Linked DNA regions of Homo sapiens: regions 1, 2, 3, 4 and 5 are each linked to region 6. Evidence: promoter capture Hi-C in 16 types of primary human blood cells and fetal thymus (Javierre and others, 2016). All regions are on one chromosome and are shown on one strand. Each heading gives the region's core, a stretch centred on a gene start or on the middle of the fragment in contact. The rest is flanking DNA. Distances are from core to core; before and after follow the strand shown.

Region 1 (3,133 bases), core at 110-2,609, 710 kb before region 6:
CACAAGATCTCAGCAAAACATTAGAGGATGCTGATAAAGAGGGCTACATGTTTTAAGCAAAGCCAGTTTTTAGGCAGGTCAAGACTCACATTACAGGTTCAGAGAAACCGTGAGTGACAGGCAGCCTTGATTACAATCAAAGAGCAGCTGCCCAAGATTCCAGCAACCATTAAGAAAGGGAGATGCTACAATTTAGGCCCTAGAGAGCAACATCTAAGGTTAAGGTTGACATACTAAGTCTCTTTCTAGCACCATTAGGCACCTTGGGGGCAAGGAAAGTGCACAGAATCAAAGCCAGGCAGATGTGGGTTTCAATTCTAACCAGCTGCTGGCCTGGGGAGAGGGGCCCTGCTCACTCTGTGCCTCAGTTTCCTCATTTTCGAAATAAGAATTTTACTACCTGCTGGATACATACGAACTTCATGGTAAGGATGAAAAATGTGTATAAAGATGAACAGAATATAGAGCTCAGAAATAGACTTAGTTTGTTTTGTATTGCTATAATGGAATACTCGAGTCTGGGTAATTTATAAAGAAAAAATGGTTTATTTGGCTCACAATTCTAATGGCTGGAAAGTTCAAGATTGGACATCTGCATGTGGAGAGGGCTTCAGGCTGCTTCCACTCATGGCAAAAGATGAAAGGGAGTGTGCGTGTGTGCAGAGATCACATGACAAGAGTATAAGCAAGAGGGAGAGGAGAGAAGGGCCCGGTTCCTTTAAATAACCAGCTCCAGAGTCATCTAATAGAGTGAAAATTCATCTCCCCGTCCCACCTACCCCCAGGAAGGACATTTCATGAAGGATCCACACCCGTGAACCAAATACCTCCCATTAGGTTCCACCTTCAACATTGGGGATCAAATTTCAACATGAGGTCTGGAGGGCACAAACATCGAAACCCAAACAGTAGCCTAGACCCACACAAATAGCTGATCCAGAGTGGCTAAGACAAGTCAATGGAGACAAGATAGTCTCCTCAACAAATGGTCCTGGAACAACTGGACCTGGACCGCCACATGCAAAAAATAAATCTAGACACAGACTTTAACATCTTACACAGCAATTAACTCAAAACAGATCATAGGCCTAAATGTAAAACACAAACCTATAAAATGCTTAGAAGATAACATAGGAGGAAATCTACCAATGGCTTTTTAGATACAACAGCAAAAGCATTATCTATGAAAGAAATGATTGCCAAGTTGGCCTTCATTAAAGTTAAAACCTTCTGGTCTGCAAAGACAATGTTAAGGCAATGAAAAGACAAGCCACAGGCTGGGAGAAAATCTTTGCAAAATACATATCTGATAAAGGACTGGTATCCAAAATACACAAAGGACTCTTAAAACTGAGTAATAAGAAAACACCTCACTTTAAAAACACAGCAGGGCGCGGTGGCTCACGCCTGGAATCCCAGCACTTTGGGAGACCGATACAGGTGGATCACCTGAGGTCAGGAGTTTGAGACCAGCCTGGCCAACATGGTGAAACCCTGTCTTTAATAAAAATACAAAAAATTAGCCATGCATGATGACAGGCACCTGTAATCCCAGCTACTTGGGAGGCTGATACAGGAGAATCACTGGAACCTGGGAGGTGGAGGTTGCAGTGAGCCAAGAGCACGCCATTGCACTGTAGCCTGGGCGACAAGAGTGAAATGCTGTCCCAAAAATAAATAAATAAATAAATAAATAAATAAATAAAAATAGACAAAAGATCTGAATAGACCCTTCATCAAAGACAATACACATATAACAAATAAGCATATGGAAAAATATTTAACATCATATACTATCGGAGAAATTGCAGATTAAAGCAAAGAGATACTACTACACAACTATTGAATAACTAAAATCCAAAACATTGGCAGCATCAAATGCGGGCGAGGATATGGCGCAACAAACTCTCATTCATTGCCAGTGAGGATGCGAAACAGTACAGCCACTTTGGAAGACAATGTGACAGTTTTTTACAAAACTAAACATAGTCTCACCACACTATCTAGCAGTCAGGCTCCTTGGTATTTATCCAAATGCATTGAAAATGTATGTCCACACAAAAACCTGTACAGCGATATTTATAGCAGTTTTGTTCATAATTGCCAAAACTTGGAAGCAATCAAACTGTCCTTCAGTAGGTAGGTGAACAAACTGTGGTACATCCATACAATGTATTGAGCCACGAAAGGACATGGAGGAAACATACATGTTTCTAAGTGAAATGAGCCAATCTGAAAAAGCTACATACTATGTGATTTCAACTATATGATGTTCTGGAAAAGGCAAAACAGTGGAGACAGTAAAAAGATCAGTAATTGCCAGGGGCTTGTGAGGGGAAGGATGAATAGGTGGGGCACAGGGGATTTTTAGGACTGTATAACTTCTGTATGATAATGTAATGGTGGATACATGTCATCCAGCATTTGTCAAAACCCATAGGACGTACAATACAAAGAATAAACTGTAATGTAAACTATGAAATTTAGCTAATAATAATGTATCAGTATTGGCCAGGTGCGCTGGCTCATGCCTGTACTCCCAGCACTTTGGGAAGCCAAAAGGCTGATCACCTGAGGTCAGGAGTTCAAGACTAGCCTGGCCAACATGGCGAAATCCCGTCTGCATTAAAAATACAAAAATTAACCAGGCATGGTGGCAGGGACCTGTAATCCCAGCTACTCGGCAGGCTGAGGCAGGAGAATCACTTGAACCCGGGAGGCGGAGGTTGCAGTGAGCCAAGATTGTGCCATTGCACTCCAGCCTGGGTGACAAGAGCGAAACTCCATCTCAAAAAATAAAAATAAAAAATAATATATCATTATTGACTCATCAATTGTAATGAATGCACCTCACTAATCAAGATGTTCATATAACAGGAGAAACTGGTGGGGGAGGGCTGTGATGAAGGGGGTATATGGAAACTTTATGTACCTTCTGCTCAATATTTTTGTAAACCTAAAACTGCTCTTAAAAATTCTATTAAATAAATGTATGTATATATGTATGTAAAGTACCTGACATAGTTCTATGTATAGAAAGTGCCAATCAAAAATAGGTATTATTAAGAAGATTAAGCAAATGGAGCCCTCCATTTTCTGGAGTGTTTTAAGGCAGTGTATGGGATAGGTTAAG
Region 2 (3,271 bases), core at 239-2,738, 560 kb after region 6:
TTGCCTATGGACCCAGGGCCTGGCCTAGAGGGGAAGCCAGGTCTCTGCTCACCTCTAGTCTAGGCTTTTCCCGTTTGGGAGGTGAGGTTGGCCTGCCCCCAGCTTTCCTGAATGGAGAGCGTGCATTCATTTCCTAATATGCCACGATCCTTGGGAAGATTTCTTTTGCTTTAGTTTGCTGTCAGGCCTGGAAGGGAAGGTGAAGTGGGGAGTCAGTGAGGAGGGGGCTGGGCCACCTGGTGGGATGTTGGGAACTATTTTCTGTGCAGAGGCCAAGGCTGGGGCTGGGGGTGGGACACATGGAAATCAAACATGTACTTCACAGTTTGGTCCTGGGCTGACCTGTTTATAATAAAAACATTTGGTTTGACTTCCACAGACTCCAAGCCATGACGTCAATGTTGATGCATTTCAGGCCACATTCCTTTTAGTCTCCGGAGAAGTTCTTTACAAAAAGCATGAAAGGTGGAATCAAATAGTTCCTGGGATCATCTCCAGTCTGAGACATCACATTTGCACTTTAAGCAAATGATTCAGATACTAAAATTCAAGCCCTAAATATGCCTTTTCAACTACAAACTAATTATTTGTGTCTAAATCAATGGACGGTGTCTCTTTAAATGTTCCCTTCATTCCTCATGCATGCTATAATCAGCAGATGGCCCTACCTTCCCCCACCACCCCCTTTTAAACAGACCCTTCTAATAGCTAATATCCTGCAGTGACCAAAGCCATTAGAAGGATTAAGCCATTACTATCCTGTCCAGCAAACACACAATGCTCACGGGGATTGCCTTTTTTTTTTATTTTTTGGTTGTTGTTTTTATGGATGAATCAGGGCCCAATGGTAGGCTGAAAATCAAAACAGGGAGGGCAAAGGGTTATAGTCATTCTTTTCAAGGACACCTCCCAAACAGCCTCAGGATTTGAGATTCCTTTGTTAGAATGACGGCAGATGTCAGCCTTGTGGCTAGTGCAAGCTCCGAAAGGACACAGTACGCAGACCTCTGTCCCTCGTTTCCTTAATATCTAATACTCATCCTTTCCAGAGCACCACTGTGGCTGTCTCGTTGCTCTGCCTGTCCACACAGGCCTGTTTGTGCTGTAACAGACAAGCAACCAGCAGCCCAGCCCAAAGCCACGTTGCAGGGCCCAGGACTGCTCTGAGACACTGCCACCCAGTGGCGCTTCTGAAGCATAACAGCACACAGAAAGGGAGCAGGGAACCCAGTTTTATAAGCATGGAGGGGGTAGGGGGTGCAAAAGCTGGCCTAGAATCGTGAGGCCGAGCTGCAGAAAAGCATGCTCCATGGCACGGAGGCAGGTAGCTAGTTTGGAGATGGCTAAATAGGGCAAGTGACAAAAAACACGAAGAAAGGCAGCTGGAATATAAAGAGAGGAATAAAGAAATGTAATGACATGGAAAGCGTGAGCAGTCTTTTCTAAATGGAAGAAATACGCACTTTCTCTAAGTGAGAGCTGGAGCGAGATGACCGAAAGATGAGTCAATGGAGCCCTTTTTTGGAGTTGGCCTCAGTTTGGATTACTCAGTATCTCACATGTCTGGGTTCTTAAGGATCCTTGAGCTTTGCTGACTTTGGGGAAGTCACTGTATTTCAGTTTTGTGACCCGAAGGGGCTGAGCTGAACCTCTAAACAGCTTCCCTGAGCCCTAACAGTGAGTATGTAATTAAATACCTGAGACGTTGAGTGAACAAGAAATGCAGAAATACAGAAAATGCAGGCTGTGAGCAATCCTTAAATCTTGTGTTTGACTTCAAAGTGCTGTAAGGGAGAACCTGAAAAATACATCCACTTACACCTTTGGTGGTTCAGGACTTGCCAGGAGAGTGCATGGAAGGGACCCCCATCCCACAGCGCATGGGTGACTCTACCCGCCATCTAACCTCCCTGAATCTCAGCAGCCAAGGCCAGTGCACTGAGATCTGCACCTCCAGCACTTTCAGTGTAGGGCGAGACAGGTTTAGAAGGAATTGGGCTTCTCTAAGATTGAAGCTAAACCAGAAGCTAATGGGTTAGTAATTTAATAGGTCTCCCTTTTCGGCAATATTTTCATTTTAAAAAGAAAACTTCTGTTAGAGGGCAAGTAATTCCAAAGAAATTAGATTCTGCTGGTTGAAACGTTAAGAATCCAGGCAGGCGGTGAGGGAAATTCGTTTCCCGGCTTCTCCAATCTAATCTGATAGTGCCCGTCTTGCCTCAGTCGTTAATACTTCTTGGGAAAAAGCATATGTGATCACTCTTTTAAAAACTGTTAGAATCACTTTCCTATCCAAGGTCTGAAAGAAGATTTGGGCTTAGGCTCCATTTGAAGAAATCCAGGTTGTATTTCCCCCAGCATTTAGGGTTTGATGGTTTCTGCTTATCTAAAGTGCTCACATTGCAAATATGAGCAGCAGGGCTGGGGATTTAAATTCTGTCTTGATGGGAATTTGAACTGAAATGCTCTGCCCACTGCCACTTTATAAGCTGGGAATCATCAAGCTAGCTACAAATACCTCGAGGGGTCCTTGCAGTTGCTCAACATAAATCAGCAAAATGACAGGCAATTGACTTTGAAGACAGCGCTCACATGGCTGAGTGGCTGGAGCTGCTGGAAGCAGATGAGGGCATTTTCCTGTAAACATGATTGTGATTAGCACCAGAGTAAATAGCGAATCGGGCTCTATCTGTCAGACTCCAGCCTGCTCTGGATTTTTCATTAGGTAGAAATCAACATGTGACTCAGTGCAGCAAAGTTGGCAATTATAAGAAATAAGTTTCTATTTCAACACCTGGTGAATACTTCTGATTTTCCTAGAAGGTAAGCAAGAAGGAAAGTTGATTTTGCCATGTTTTCATGTAGGGATAAAATAGGAGTGTGGGAATCAGTCCTTTCACTGCAAGAGCAATTCAGCTTCTAGTCCGTGCTCTGATGCTATCTAACAAAATGTCTGGCATAGCTCAGATTTTGGCTAAGTGGAAAGGTGCACGTTTGAAAGGTTGACCCTACCAGTGTCATCTGAGGTCACTAATTCATATGCCTAAAGAGCCCAGGAAGGTAACATCAGTAGGTAAGCTGGCTGGAGGGGCTGAGGCCAAGTGGAGTGTGCCGGCCCTGTCCAAGGAGGCAGGCTGACCCTGCTCCAGCATGGACTGTGGCCAACTGGGGCAGAAAGGCTTGGGTTGTCATATCAACTGGTTTTTCAAAAGAAGCCAGAATTTGGGATTTTCATGTAAAACACTGGGAGTTCCAAATCAAACATGTCTAC
Region 3 (3,486 bases), core at 918-3,417, 540 kb before region 6:
ATAAACCTTACAACCCTCTAAACTATGTGTTAATTTTTATAAATGAAAAAACTGAAGCTCAGATATTAAGTAACTTCTTCAAAATCACCCAGAACAAAGTCAGGCTTGACTCCAAAGCCCAGCTATTCTTGTGGTTTTCTGAACTCTGAGGACTGACGAACAGCATCAGTCAAAATGTAGATGTGTTAAAATTATCAGACTTAAAAAAAAATGCTCCTGAGAAACACTGGGGGAGTGGCACCCTAATGGAACCCAGGTGAGTGATGCCCACGGAAAACCATGTGGTAAGGAAGGACATAAGGGGAAACAGGTTCCAGCATGCAGGGAAGAAGAAAAACTATCTCGTCTGGCAGACAACTGAGAACTGGCCAACTCCCAGATGTCTTCCTGTATGTTCCTACAAGAATTCTGAGGGTCCCACTCTGCTGCGGCTTGTCCCGGTTCCCCTCCAGGTTCTGCTGCCTCCTTGTATTATTTAACTATAGCAAAGTTTCTCCCACTTCATTGTAAGACTTCCCTTACATCAAATAAGCTTCAAGAACATGTGTAGAAAATAAAAGATACCAAATAATGTTTGAATGTGTAATTACTACATTCTAAAACCAGCCAGACTCTTCTAAGACTTCTAACAACAAACCACTTCCAGAGCCATTTTAGAAAATGTGTTTACCCAACTCCTTTTTTATTGGTTGACTCACGTGGAAGAGATGGGCATTTCCTTTCCCCAAATGGGAATTTACTATGCCTACTCCATATTTCTTGAAAGCTGTCATTTTGAAAAAGAGGAATATGAAAAATATTAAAAGACAAACATCTGACATCACTGTCGAAGACTATAAAATAATGTAGTAAGTGAAATTGGTTTTCACATTTCAGTACTGCTTTAAACTCTGATATTTAAGAACTAAGTGTTTCTCATTTAGTTCTATCCATGATCTCTTTCAGAAGTCAACCACCTCCTGTGTAAAAGCCTCATAGAAGCCACTGCCTTCTGAAGGAAACACACCAACTGGCAGGGGGTCAGGGTAAGCCAGGAGTCACACCCAACTACCACTGCTCACACCCAAGAACCCCACCCTACCCTGGCCACAAAAACTGTGCCTAGACTCCAGCACAGCCTGCAGCTGTGTTTCAATTATAGCTGTGTTTGTAATTATAGGTCATGTGCCTTCTCCCCCACCCCAATCACTCCACCCCAATCACTCCATTTGGCTAACAAGTGACCATATTATAACACAAAAATGGAAAACAAACTGGAATGCTCGAAAAAGTTACAAATAAAAACGGTATGAAGGCATATTAAATTTTGGCTGATACTTCCCTTTGATTTTGCTAAACTATAGCAAAGGCTGGCTCAATGTTGATTTTTACTGAAGAGTATCATTAACTGAAGAAAGAAAAAAAGACATAAACAGTAGTGAAATAAAGAATAGGCAAATACACCAGAATTATGAATAGAAGCCATTTTAAAGAAGAGAAATATTCTACAACAGATGAAGAAAGTTTTAATTTCTTTTCACATTAAACATTGTTTACCACAATCAGCTAACAGAAATTACTGTAACATTGGTCACGATGACTTCATAAAACTAAAGATAAATGTTATGAGGAAACTTCATTTAACGTGAATGGTAATGTTAGATACTGTATTTTTCCATGGTAAAATACAACTTATCTTGAAGAGAAAGCAAATAGTTCAGATCAGGGAGACATGCTGAGGTTTTAATAAAGAAAAGCTTGGCCTTGTCCAGAACACTTAACAAAGTTCAGGACAATTTAGGTAAAAGAGATGAGTGAGACACCAGCGTTAGGCAGGGACATAGGCTCATCATTCAGGCTTTATGTACATTACTGGATCTATGCAGCTCTCACCTTTAGATAAGTGAGCTATATTTTTGGCAGAGGGATCTTCAAAAGTAGCCTTGGATATGAGGAATCGTATTTTAACCACCAGGCAGTCCAAGGAATTATTTTTAAAGGGACAGCTGAGTATTTCACGTATATACTATTAAGGCATCTAAATTTTTGGTGTTTTCAGTATATAATTTTACTGCTACTTTTTATTCTTTTTTTTCATATTGTACAACTATGATATTAGGTATTAAGCGACGTAATTCTTTCTCTACTAGTGAACCAGTTTATTTCACTTAGCAAACTCTAAATTGAGGGAAATATATAATCTGAGAACACACAGAAAAATATATTGAAAAACCAATAGAGAATTATTTTTAACCATCATAAAAACTCAATCTTAATTAACTGATAGTCTTTAACTTAAAAAAAGAGTAATCAGAATGAAAATAGGTATTAAAAATAATTACCAGTAGTTTGTTTTACAAAATAGAGCCATAAATTGTTTAATTGCCCAATTAAGCAACTACCAGATTCTTTAGTCAACACTAACAGAATTCACATTTCAGCTAGTCAACAAAGCATATAAATATTTAACATCTCTTGAAGATAACATTTTAGTGATAACGGAGACTACATAATTCTATCCATTGTTGTGACTGTCCACAAATTAACCAGGTTAAATATCAAAGATACATTGGGAATACTCCCCAAAACAACAACAGAATATTAATTAAATGAATTTTAAAAGCTTAAGAAATGAAAGTAGAAAACATGAATGAGACGGTGCTTAAACAATTATTGACCTAATCAAGACCTTTAAAATTACCACCAAAATGCACTATCATTTTTTTTTTATTTAGTTTACAGGAAGAATCTGTAAGTACAGGTTGCAGAAAGAAAACGTTTAGTGCTATTTACATTCATTTTAAAACTCTGCTCTATACAAATTTAATTCTGATCAGTATGAACAATATTTTCGTAGATCTACTGCATATAAAGCCTTTTCATCAAAGCATTAACAATGAATAAAATAACATGATTACATTTAAACAACGCTGACCATTTGAAACCATTTACATTTAATGTTTGTAAGGGCTGTTGACACTTAGTACAGAATGTAATGTCAGCCTGCAACTTCATTTTTATAAAGGCTAAACTTATTTATATGGAATATTGTTCTGTATACTACGCGCCAATCTATATTTTAAGTCCTGTAGTTAGGTATTTTATAAGTCTTTTATTAAATATATTCTACACATATTTGTAATTTCATCCAGGAAGAATTTCTTCCCAGTGAAAAAATATAAAAATCTTTCATATTTTTACAGGTTTAGATGAAAGTAGCTCATGCTTTAGTGCTGTGCAAATTGTTTTTAGCATATCAATCTTTAAATTATTGGTATGAAATAAAAGAAAAAGTGGCATTCTTGTGTATGCCATAAAAATCAGCTTTTGACTTTAATACAATTGCAAGCACTAATATCAAACGCAAACTATATAAAGAAACAAAATTAGTACTATGGAGTTTTTTTTTAATTTTAAGAATTCATCTGAACTCTAAGGAGTAAGCATGACACTGGATGTGGTTACAAATTAATGATAATTATGGAAAATTTCAATTTGCTGATATTC
Region 4 (3,448 bases), core at 64-2,563, 520 kb before region 6:
GACCCTGTCTCTACAAAAAATTAAAAAAAAAAAAAAAAAAAAAAAGCCAGGTGTGGTGGCACATGCCTATAGTACTAGCTACTCTGGAGGCTGAGGCAGGAGGATTACTTGCACCCAGAGTTCGAGGCTGTGGGGATACAGTGCAATGATCATGCCATTGCACTCCAGCCTGGGTGACAGAATGAGACCCCATCTCTAAAAAAAAAAATAAAATAAACATAAATCAACAAAGCCTACTTTTTATAGAAAACATTAAGCACAGAAATATAGAAATACAACATTTAAAAATAAAGTTATAAGATATTCATGGATCCTTTGAAGACTATTCATTGAACCTAAGACCTTCTGTTCTAGATGTCCTTGTTCTAGATGTTCTAGATAATGTTCAATTATCTTTGAACATTCCCAATCTCTTTTTTTCCACTCACAAGCTTAAAAGCTTGTGAGAGGAAAACCAAACCAAACCAAAACAAGACAAAACAAGACACACATACTGTACTCCATAAATTTAACTGGGTTCCTGCCACAAAATTCTCAGCATTTCCTAATTTAAAACTAACACACATCACAGTTGCCAATAAACTGATATTACACTTTCATATTTCAAAAATCAATGGTCTAAAGAGTTCATATTTATCTAGATGTTCAGAATGTTGGAAACTCATAGCCTCTAAATATGTTTGAACCAAATTTAAAAAATATTATTTTAATGTTTATAGGTGGGTATGAATCTTCGGTTTGACACAGACCCTACTACTCCCTCCTTACTCCCCCTGGCCTGCTTCAGACACTCAGGAAACTGCCTAGTTCCAGAAAACATTTGAGTTTGTTAACTCACAGTAGAGTTTGAAAGTAGTTTGGAAGTATAAAATGAGAACAAAAAGCAGGTTAAGATTTTAAAATCTTCTACTCAGAGGAAACCTAATCACCCTTCTGGGTGGGGAAGGGGGAGAAAATGACAACTGCAACAGTAACTGTGTAAATACATAAGTCTAAAAATTTATCAAGTCTTATAGCAAAACTGCTTCAGGAAAGAAGCTTATGTCCAAAATTGAAAAGAGCAACAATAAACCCACAGCACTGCACTGCTGAGTAAAGTAACTCTTGCCTGAAACATCCAGTGCCTGGATCAGTGTTTGGCACATAGTAGTAGGTGCTCAGCCAGTAACTGTTGACTAATATTTCTGTTTTTTCAGTTTTAAGATGCAACTGAAAGTGCAGACTAGAAAGGTCAGAGCTGATTCAAACCTAGGCTTCAGCATTCTGGCATTGTATTGAATGAGTGGCATAGTATGTAGAACAGGAATGGATAATAATTGTTTCTTGGTAGTGCTGTGGTCATGCAGATAGTTCAAATGCGTGAACACCTCAATCTTTAATTTGTTTTGGGCTCTGGATCTTTACTGTCAGCAACATGCCAGAGTTAACATAAATGCTATCATTTAGTCAGGTATTTTGAAAAGTAAAATTAATTCTAAGTTACCGTATTAACGTATACATTTGGGTCTACTTTTCAAACGGACTAGGTTAATAGATATAGACAATTAACAGATTGGTCTTAATTGGGCCTATGCTTATATCTATGAGACAAGCTTGCTACTAGACTAGAGCCATGAATCTGCCTCAGTATGCTTGTCAAGTATACCTTAGGACTGTAAGAAAGATGGAGAAAAACACTGGATTCCCATAATTTCCTTTAGAAGAAATCTTGAAAGCAATCACGCAGATAACTGGATACCGGGCTGGTTATTAGTTAATTGTTCCTATGCTATAATAAGAATCTTCCAGGGCTTATTCAGATAAATAATGTTAATTGTAGCTCCTCTCAGTAAATGTATGACAATTTCTATAAATGTGAGCTTGTTCCTTTAAAATATTAAGTACTTATTACTTAAATATTTATTAGTGAAAGGCCTTTTTACTTCTTTGAAGCCAAGCTAAGTCTAAGTATAAAATACATTTAAAAACCTCTGCTTGTAGGGTAATGGGATCCTTGACACATCAATAATGGGTTAAAAATAAGACTTATTTACAGCTTAAAATGTTATATACTTTGTGTACATACCTGTCTAAAAGAAAACTGGTAATAAGGACTCTGACTTGGTATGAGAGCTATTATGTAGTAAAGTTCCTAAGAGATGGCATTTAGATCATTCAAATGAATTATATATTTTTTATATTTACTTTTGAGACAAAACAAATCAGACAAGACTATTAGTGAGGCAGAACTACCATGATGATTTCCTGTAAGGCCAATGGATACAACAAGAACTCTTCAATGCATGTAATTTCAAGTTAGAACCATTTTTAGTCAAACTGCCATTTCTATTTGTTAGATAGTATCAATTTGGGGAAATTACATATAGAACTTAGTTTATAAAATAATATGTTTTTAGTTGGTCAGGATGGAAAAAAATGACGGGAAAGAAAGAGGGAGGATGGAAGATGGAACTGACTAGAATGGTCTTTGGATATAAAATATAATTACAGAGATGGACCATGCCCTTTAAAAAGGCTGTTTTCTACCAAAAGACAAATACGTTGATCAGAAAAAGAATTCCCACTTCTCCTCTGAGAATCTCTTAAGAATAAAATGAGTATTGGGATACTCTTACTTCACATGCCAGTCTTCCTTAGGGAAAACCATCAACAGAAGCACCCTTTGCCTTTCTACTGCTCATTCCTGCCTTCTTTGCTAAATGGCAACAAGCAGCAGGTAGCCAGTGGGAAAGGTATTAGACCCTTTTTGCAAATCTTTGGAAAAAAAAAAAAACAACTCCCGACTTATATCAAGGGAATTATGCTTAAAAGGTAACATACTATATGATCCCACTTATACAATATTCTTGAAATGACAAAATTATAGAGATGGAGAATGGCCAGCTGGAAGGGGAGACAGGAAGGGTTACTTTGCCTATAAAAGGGTAGCACAAAGAATCCTTGTGATGGAACTGTCCTGTATCTTGGCTGTAGTAGTTGGTACAGGAATCTATTTGTGATAAAACTGCATAGAACTAAACACATACACACATGCACACACACACACACAAATAAATGCATATAAAACTGGACAAATATTAATAAAGTCTGTGAATTTTATCATTACCAATTTCTTTTGAGACGGAGTCTCACTCTGTCACCCAGGCTGGAGTGCAGTGGCGGGATCTCGGCTCGCCGCAACCTCCGGCTCCCGGGTTCAGGCAATTCTTCTGCCTCAGCTTCCCAAGTAGCTGGGACTACAGGTGCACGCCACCATGCCCGGCTAATTTTTGTATTTTTAGTAGAGATGGGGTTTCACCATATTGACCAGGCTGGTCTTGAACTCCTGACCTCAGGTGATCCACCTGCCTCAGCCTCCCAAAGTGCTAGAATTACAGGCATGAGCCTCCATGCCTGGCCTATCATTATCAATTTCTTGTTGTGATACTGCACTGTGATTATGTAAGAT
Region 5 (3,231 bases), core at 41-2,540, 630 kb after region 6:
TTAGAATAGCCCCTTAAGAATAAGGAACTGTTGTAAATTGCTTTGTAAACAGGTTGCCAGCCAACTCCAAAATGTATTTCCTGTCTTCTCTTTTCACCCAAGTGGGTAATAACTGTGTTGTAACCTGGAGACAGTCAGTAGTTACTAACCACCTAGTATGTCAAATTACCAGGTAAGGTTATCCAGCAAAAGGGGCTCACTGCACTAGAAGCCAACACTATGACACCAAGTTTTTGAGAAAAGGAAAGCTTCACATTGCAAGTTAACTTCTGAGGAAACAAAAGTCCAGTTCAAATCTGTCTTGTACTGGCTTTAGGGCAGTAATTTTATTACAAAAGGTTTAGGGTTGGATCCTGGGGTTAGCAGGTGATTGGTGGAAGCAAAGGGAACATCTGGGAAGTCTTCAGGCATGCATGGCTCTCTCTTCATGCTTCCTGGTGGGTCCCATGTGCAAATTTGGAGGGAGTTGGTATGAAACATGCAGTAGAAATTCAGGCTGTGACATCAGCAAGCTTGCTGTGCGCAAACTGCATTTGGCCATATTGATTCCGGCTGATTTCAGTCAGTTTTGTTATAAGCAGAGGGAGTTTCAGCAAATTGTTTCTTTTCTTATCTGCCCCTGAAAACAAGAATTTCTGTTAGTTATTGGTGTCTTTGACTCTTTGAAACAGTTTCAGTAGTTCCCAAGATATGAAGATAAAAGACCCCCTTCATCAGTGAAAACTCTTACAAGGGGATGAAAGACACAGCTTCCTCTATGAGAGCACAAGAACAATTAAATTGACCCTCACAAACACTATGGTTGGTGCCAGGAACGTGGCCTGGTGAGGAGGACAGTGTCACATCCTCCCTGCCCACTCCTGTTTCCACGCGTGCATTTCCTCTTCTGCCCCTCTCCTAAGCCAGGATGACCCTTCTGACCGCGTGGAACTATCACAGAAACTGCTTCCATTTATACCAGATGACTTGGGATTCAGTCTTCTTGCTTGGTTTTTATTGACTGCAAAAATCCATGACAACTTTGCGCACATTTGCTTAAGCTGAAAGCAAATGGATGAAAGTTTGTAGTTGAAAATCTACTTTCTCTTCAATCTCTTCCCTTTTTGCTTTTCTTAGGAAACATACAAGACAGTGGTCCGGAAAGCTCACTGCAAGAACTGTACAAATAATGTAAAAGTAAGGCATCCATAAGATCAAAGCCACATTTCTTTGCTCTCTGCACCCCATTCCCGCGCCGGCCAGGTTAAGCCTCCTGCGTGGCCAGCACCCCTTGGCAGGGGCAGAACTCCCTGGAACCCGATCCTTGTCTCCATGGCGACGCGTCACAAAGCAGCCCGCGGCTCCCGCAAGCGCTGAGATAGCTGGAGCCAGGGCCCCGCGGCCGCCTCCTGGGGCAGAATGGAACAGCCTGGGCCCAGGGCTCCGGATCCCTCTCTCTGCCACCACAACCTCCAGCCAAGTAAGACAGCAGACTCTGCCGGTCTGCGGGGCGGGGCTGGGGTCTTTCCCGGGGAAAGGGTCCTGTTGAGAAAAAGGGGCCTTAGTATTTAAGGGTGTGGCATCGCTCTTAGGAGTATGCTCAACTGAGGAAAAGACGGGGAGTCAGGGAGAATGACAGGGCCTTCATGACGCTGCCCCTTTTCAGTCCTTCGCATAACCTTTGCCAAATCCCCGCTCCCTAAAACGCGCAGGGTTTTTAAACACTCGAGGAAGTGCCTGGCTAAGAGGGGACAGGAAAAAAGGAAGAACTGGTGATTTTCCAAGGAAAACAGGGCCAAAGGCAAAGAAGAAAGAGAAGTCCTGGAAGCTCTGAAGAGAACAGGTCCTGCCTGAGTCCCGATCCCCATATAGGATCTTGGAAACAGCAAGGAAAGTGGGGGAAGGGTTGGCTGCTGAATGGAGTCCCAGCTGTGTCTGCAGAGGCAGACGCCCTCCCTGGGCTGTCGCACCAGGCTGGGAGCCATGGCCTTCAGCTGCCGCCTCTAACCTGAATTGATTTTTCTTCCACAGAGATTTTGTATTTCACAGAGGTAGTGCTTTTCATCCTAATTCTGCCCACAGATGCAGCAGGTTCACCAGTTCAGCCTTTTGGGTCTGTGGAGGGAGAACCACTCTAGCTGTGACGCTAGTGGCATGATTACCGTGTAGTCAGCTCCATCATAGTCTCTTGTGGCAATAATTGGCCATTGCTGCTGTATAGTTGGGTAACTGTGATTCCACAGTGGCTATGGAGCAGTGAAGGATTGTTCAAGTACAAATTCCCTAGAATTGTGCTCCCAAAAGAGTGAATGAAATGCATATTTTCATTCCAATTCATTCCGTTGTAAATTAAGAATGGAAAATGAAAATACTTAATTAGTGCAGAAAATATCTAATACACTCAGTTTCTATATGATGGGAAGGCAAACAGGAGAGACAGAGGAGGGAGGATCCCCTCCTAGCATCCCGACAGCACCCCTTTGGATGCTTCTCTTCCCTTTCTAACCACCCTGTTTTCCCACTGTCTCCCCATTTCATCCCCTTCTTGTCTGGGAACTGTTGGAGTCCCCCAGGATTGATCCTTCTAGGCTTACCTTCTCTTTGTGACCATATCCTGCACAGGGCTTCAAGTGCTGCATAAAGGTGCCAACAACTCTCTAACCTTTATCTCTGACTTGGACTTTCTTCCTACTTTTTCAGACCAGAATATCTAACTGTCTACCAGACAGTTCCATGTGGGTGTCACAGCAGGGCCTCCAACTTGACATGTGCAAAATCACACTCCTTGTCCTCCTCAAACCTTCCAGACTTTGAGAGTTCAGTTAAGAGGGTCCTAGCTGCTCAATTTAGAAGGGAAGGCAGCTTCCTTGAGACTGCAGTTTGATCACCAGGTCTCTTTGATTCTGCCTCCAAAGCTCTTTTTCCCCCAGGTGAATTCGCCCCTTTACCTCCAGGCTTGGGCCTCTAATGGCTACTCTGTGCCACTTCATTCCCCACTGCTGGGAGAGTCACCCTCCAAATGGTAGGCTTGATGTGTCCCCACTGCCCAGGTTTGGTCCGAAATAGGATGAGGTTGATGGTGACTGATGACTAACTGTTATTGAATAATTACTACAGATGGGGCTCTCAGGTGTTGTATTAGTTTCCTGTGGCTGCTATGTGTTCCCACAGACTGGTGGATTCAAACAACAAAAATGTATTTGCTCACAGCTCTGAAGGTCGAGAGCCTGAAATCAAGGTCTGGACAAGTCT
Region 6 (3,358 bases), core at 677-3,176:
AACTGTTTTGAGGATTAAGTAAGGAGTTGCATGCAAAATACTCCTCACAGCACCTGACATATTCAATAAATGTTACTGTTATGTGATTATTTCCTCTGGGCTCCTAGAGCAACTTGCACTTATCTCTACCACACTACTGTGATGACAAGACTGCCCATGCAGGATACAGACTATCTTTTTTCATCTCTTTATTCTCACCACCTGGCATAATGCCTGGCACATAGGTTCCTAACACATTTTGAATGAATAAATAAAATACTTCAAACCTTATGTTGTATCACATAAGGCCTCAATTTTGTTTTCTACCTGTCTTACTAAACCTACTTTCCATCTCCTCCTTGTACAAAATTGCAACCTCAAGTAAAATTTACACAGGTCAACTTCATTTTAATTAAGAGAAAGTTTTATAGGATTTGTGGTCTTTTTGTTTTTAAACACACACACACACAAACTCACAATAATATCAACAATTCTCCAACTTACTCCATAAAGCAGCAAATTTCTAGGATGGTTATCTACCTATTAAAAAATTTTAAAGGGTCGTCAAGGAAGGTTTCGTAAATCTGTGTCAGCTTCCTTTACCAGCAAGTCTTTGAGTCAACTCTAAGGACTCAAGTGTACTCCTGAACATAAAAAATATATAAAGAATTAACTAAATAATTAAAACATGGTATTTTTCCTTCCGAAAACATGCTGAGAAATTCTGAATAACACTGGAATAATCAAAGAATTATTGCTGCCTACTGCTAAAAAAGTCTGTTTTTAAAAGTTACTAGTAATTTAAAGCTGAACTAATCAAAATATGTGTAGGCAGTGTTCAGGCTGGCAAGGGGGGGGTGGGGTGGAGCACTCATTTCACAACCTTGAACCTCAAGAAATAAAATTCAAAAATGCAAAAAGTTAAAAATGCCAGATACCACCATATAATCGCAATGACATCTTTTTATCTATTTCCACACTTAACCTTTAAACATTACTGCCCTTTGAGTAATTACCAATTGATGGGTTTAATATGCAAACACCTCTGAGCTACTTTAAAACAAACATGACTAACCCAGAAATAAACGTATCCAGGAAAGGAGAAAAACCTGTTAAAACACGGTTTCTCAGGTCTCACATCCAATGTGTGACATACATACGGTTCTGCACCGAAAGGCAGCAACCTGCGAGGGTCAGAGGCGCCGAAGACCCGAGGCCCTGCAGCTTGGGCGGCTGCTCATCCCTGAGACTGTGCAGGGCGGTGGCCCAGCCGGGGTGGGGCTGAGCGCTGCAACTGGGGCGGGCCCAGCTACAGGGCGGGAAGCCCGAGGCTCACCTCCACTTCCCTTTCCCAACGCACAGAGCCCAGGTCCGCGACCACTCAACAGCCCCCTCAAGACAAAGAGAGATTTTTTTTTCTGTCCCGGTCCGCTCAAAGTTTATCGGTCTTTCCCGGCGGTCGGGGCCGCCGGGCTTTGTAGTTCGCCAGTCCGAGCTACCCCACCAAGACCGCGAGCCCGAGGAGTCGCTGAACTACAATTCCCATGATGCACCGCGAGCCTGGCGCTCCCGCGCCCCTCCCCGTCCCCGCACGGGAGCCAGCGCCCGAGGAACCCCGCAGCCCACTGCCCTGGCGTCTCCGGCAGTGGGAGGCCGAGAGGGGCTGTTGGCTAGAGCCCTCCACCACCTGCTGTCTCGCCCTCGCCCCTTTCTCTCGGATTCATTACCCAGAAGGCGCAGGTCCGGGCACATTCAGCGATGCGGTCCAGATGGGGTGCGGGTGGGGCGCAGGCCGCCGCCGCCGCCGCCGCCGAGTCCGTTAGCTCGCGACGTGCGTGAAAAGGCGGCGGCGGCGTAGTGTTGCCATGGCAGCCGCGGCCGCGCGGTGGGCGCAGCGCGGGAGGGAGCGCGGGGGCTGTGAGTCCGCTCTGGGGCGGAGCTTGGGACTCCCGCCCAGGTTGCCGGGGGGAGGGAGGTGCAGCGGCGCGGGGTGGGAGAGCAGGGAGACAGTGACATTGAGGAGGACGTGTGGCCGACTGAGCTCTGGTCGTGCTTGATGAGCCTGCCTCCACTGCGTCCAGCCCCCGTGGCAGGGCACCTTCGTGCCTGCTGCTTTCGGAGGTGATGCCAGTGGCGTCGAAGGAGGGGGCACCCGGGGCGTCGCAGCGCCTTTCCCGCCGCCTGTCCAGGCGTCCGCCGCTGGGTCTGCCCCCAAGGGATGTGTGGATCCTACGCCACCTCTGTGTTTTTCTCCAGTCAAACCGAATTGAAGTCTTTCGCACCCCCTTTCTCCATTCTCTGGGGAGGGGGATAGAAGGGAATCCTTCGATAAGATGGAATGCATATGGCCTTTAGGATTATTCAGGAGGTTTTAGAATTTGCAAATGGCATTGCTTTCGACTGAATTTGGATTTATGCTGTTTCTTGGCAATCGTTTGTGGACTCTAGGATAAACAGGTTAAGAGCGTGGGCTTCTAAAACGAATTCTTAGTTCACGTCCTGCCCCTGTGCTTGGTAGCTGATGACCAGAGGCGCCTTTCTCACCTCTTAACGTTTTGATCTGCAAAAATGGAGATATCCATCTTGCAACTCTTGTAAGAAATACACGCATTAATACTGATGAAGCTCTATAAAACAAAGCTTAGCATTTAACAATAGCTATTAAATATTAATTATTTAATCAATAGTGATAAAAGTCAGAATAGTGGTTGGCTGTCGGGGAGGAGTTTGAGAGAATTTTTTGTAGTGATGAAAAAATTCTATAGCTAAGAGTTTCGGTTACAGAAGTATATGCACTTGTCAAAACTCTTGGAATGGGACATTTAAGATTTGTACATTTCACTGCATGTAAATTTACCTCAAAAGAGAACATAAAAATGTGTTGTTATTATTATTAGAGCTATAGACTCTAATGGAAACTACAGAGATATTCTAGGCCCAATCTCTAGATTTTATAGATGGGAAAACTGAGGCCCAGAAATTTAATAGAAAAAAAGAGGAAGGGGAGTGAATTCGTGACCTTGTCATTTTCTAGTAATGAATATCTCCTGAAAAATTATGGTTGAAAATAACAAAAATGGCTCCTGTAATCCAGCTGAGTCATCCTACCACAGAGATTTTCTTGAACTTGACTGAGTCCCTTATCCACCTTGTGGTGTTCCCCACGGCCAATGTCCTCTCAAGGATTGCACCGTCACTTCTGGCTCTCAGTTCTTGCTTTTCCTGAACACTTAGACCTCTCCACATATCACCTCTTACAACTCTCCTCTCTCTACTCCTGCTGACACATAATTTCGAAATCAGCCCCTTTTCTTTGGTTGTTTCTATAGCCAACTCTTTAGAAGGTTTGGAGCAGATAAGTGGTTTTAAATTAAGGATG

The links. The method cuts DNA at HindIII sites, captures the fragments that hold promoters and counts their contacts. A CHiCAGO score of 5 or more calls a contact.
Region 1: a contact is called between a fragment that was not itself captured here and the fragment with the promoter of KATNAL1 in region 6, in 1 of 17 cell types (non-activated CD4 T cells). The highest score is 5.3, in non-activated CD4 T cells.
Region 2: a contact is called between a fragment that was not itself captured here and the fragment with the promoter of KATNAL1 in region 6, in 1 of 17 cell types (neutrophils). The highest score is 5.1, in neutrophils.
Region 3: a fragment that was not itself captured here is called in contact with the fragment with the promoter of KATNAL1 in region 6 in 1 of 17 cell types (naive CD4 T cells); the score reaches 5.0 in naive CD4 T cells.
Region 4: a fragment that was not itself captured here is called in contact with the fragment with the promoter of KATNAL1 in region 6 in 1 of 17 cell types (naive CD4 T cells); the score reaches 7.4 in naive CD4 T cells.
Region 5: a contact is called between the fragment with the promoter of TEX26-AS1 here and the fragment with the promoter of KATNAL1 in region 6, in 6 of 17 cell types (M2 macrophages, endothelial precursors, neutrophils and 3 more). The highest score is 10.1, in M2 macrophages.

Annotation. Positions count from the first base shown.
Region 1 is chr13:29,598,396-29,601,528 of GRCh38, forward strand. No RefSeq gene overlaps it. Among named protein-coding and RNA genes, the nearest start is that of SLC7A1, 4.3 kb to the left of the region's middle. The HindIII fragment of the contact is 6,470 bases long and covers 1-3,133 here.
Region 2 is chr13:30,864,357-30,867,627 of GRCh38, forward strand. No RefSeq gene overlaps it. Among named protein-coding and RNA genes, the nearest start is that of LINC00545, 17 kb to the right of the region's middle. The HindIII fragment of the contact is 6,209 bases long and covers 1-3,271 here.
Region 3 is chr13:29,762,923-29,766,408 of GRCh38, forward strand. It overlaps UBL3 (ubiquitin like 3), which reads right to left. Exons shown (of 5, transcript NM_007106.4): 5 at 1,449-3,486. Among named protein-coding and RNA genes, the nearest start is that of UBL3, 86 kb to the right of the region's middle. The HindIII fragment of the contact is 866 bases long and covers 1,735-2,600 here.
Region 4 is chr13:29,781,807-29,785,254 of GRCh38, forward strand. All of the region lies in intron 1 of UBL3 (ubiquitin like 3), which reads right to left. Among named protein-coding and RNA genes, the nearest start is that of UBL3, 67 kb to the right of the region's middle. The HindIII fragment of the contact is 554 bases long and covers 1,037-1,590 here.
Region 5 is chr13:30,931,318-30,934,548 of GRCh38, forward strand. TEX26-AS1 (TEX26 antisense RNA 1) reads right to left here and starts at 1,291. Exons shown (of 4, transcript NR_038287.1): 1 at 1-1,291. It overlaps TEX26 (testis expressed 26), which reads left to right and starts at 1,339. Exons shown (of 7, transcript NM_152325.3): 1 at 1,339-1,459. The coding sequence starts at 1,399. The HindIII fragment of the contact is 4,425 bases long and covers 511-3,231 here.
Region 6 is chr13:30,305,625-30,308,982 of GRCh38, forward strand. KATNAL1 (katanin catalytic subunit A1 like 1) reads right to left here and starts at 1,927. Exons shown (of 11, transcript NM_032116.5): 1 at 1,707-1,927. RefSeq lists silencers at 1,562-1,671, 1,702-1,931. The HindIII fragment of the contact is 2,852 bases long and covers 1-2,617 here.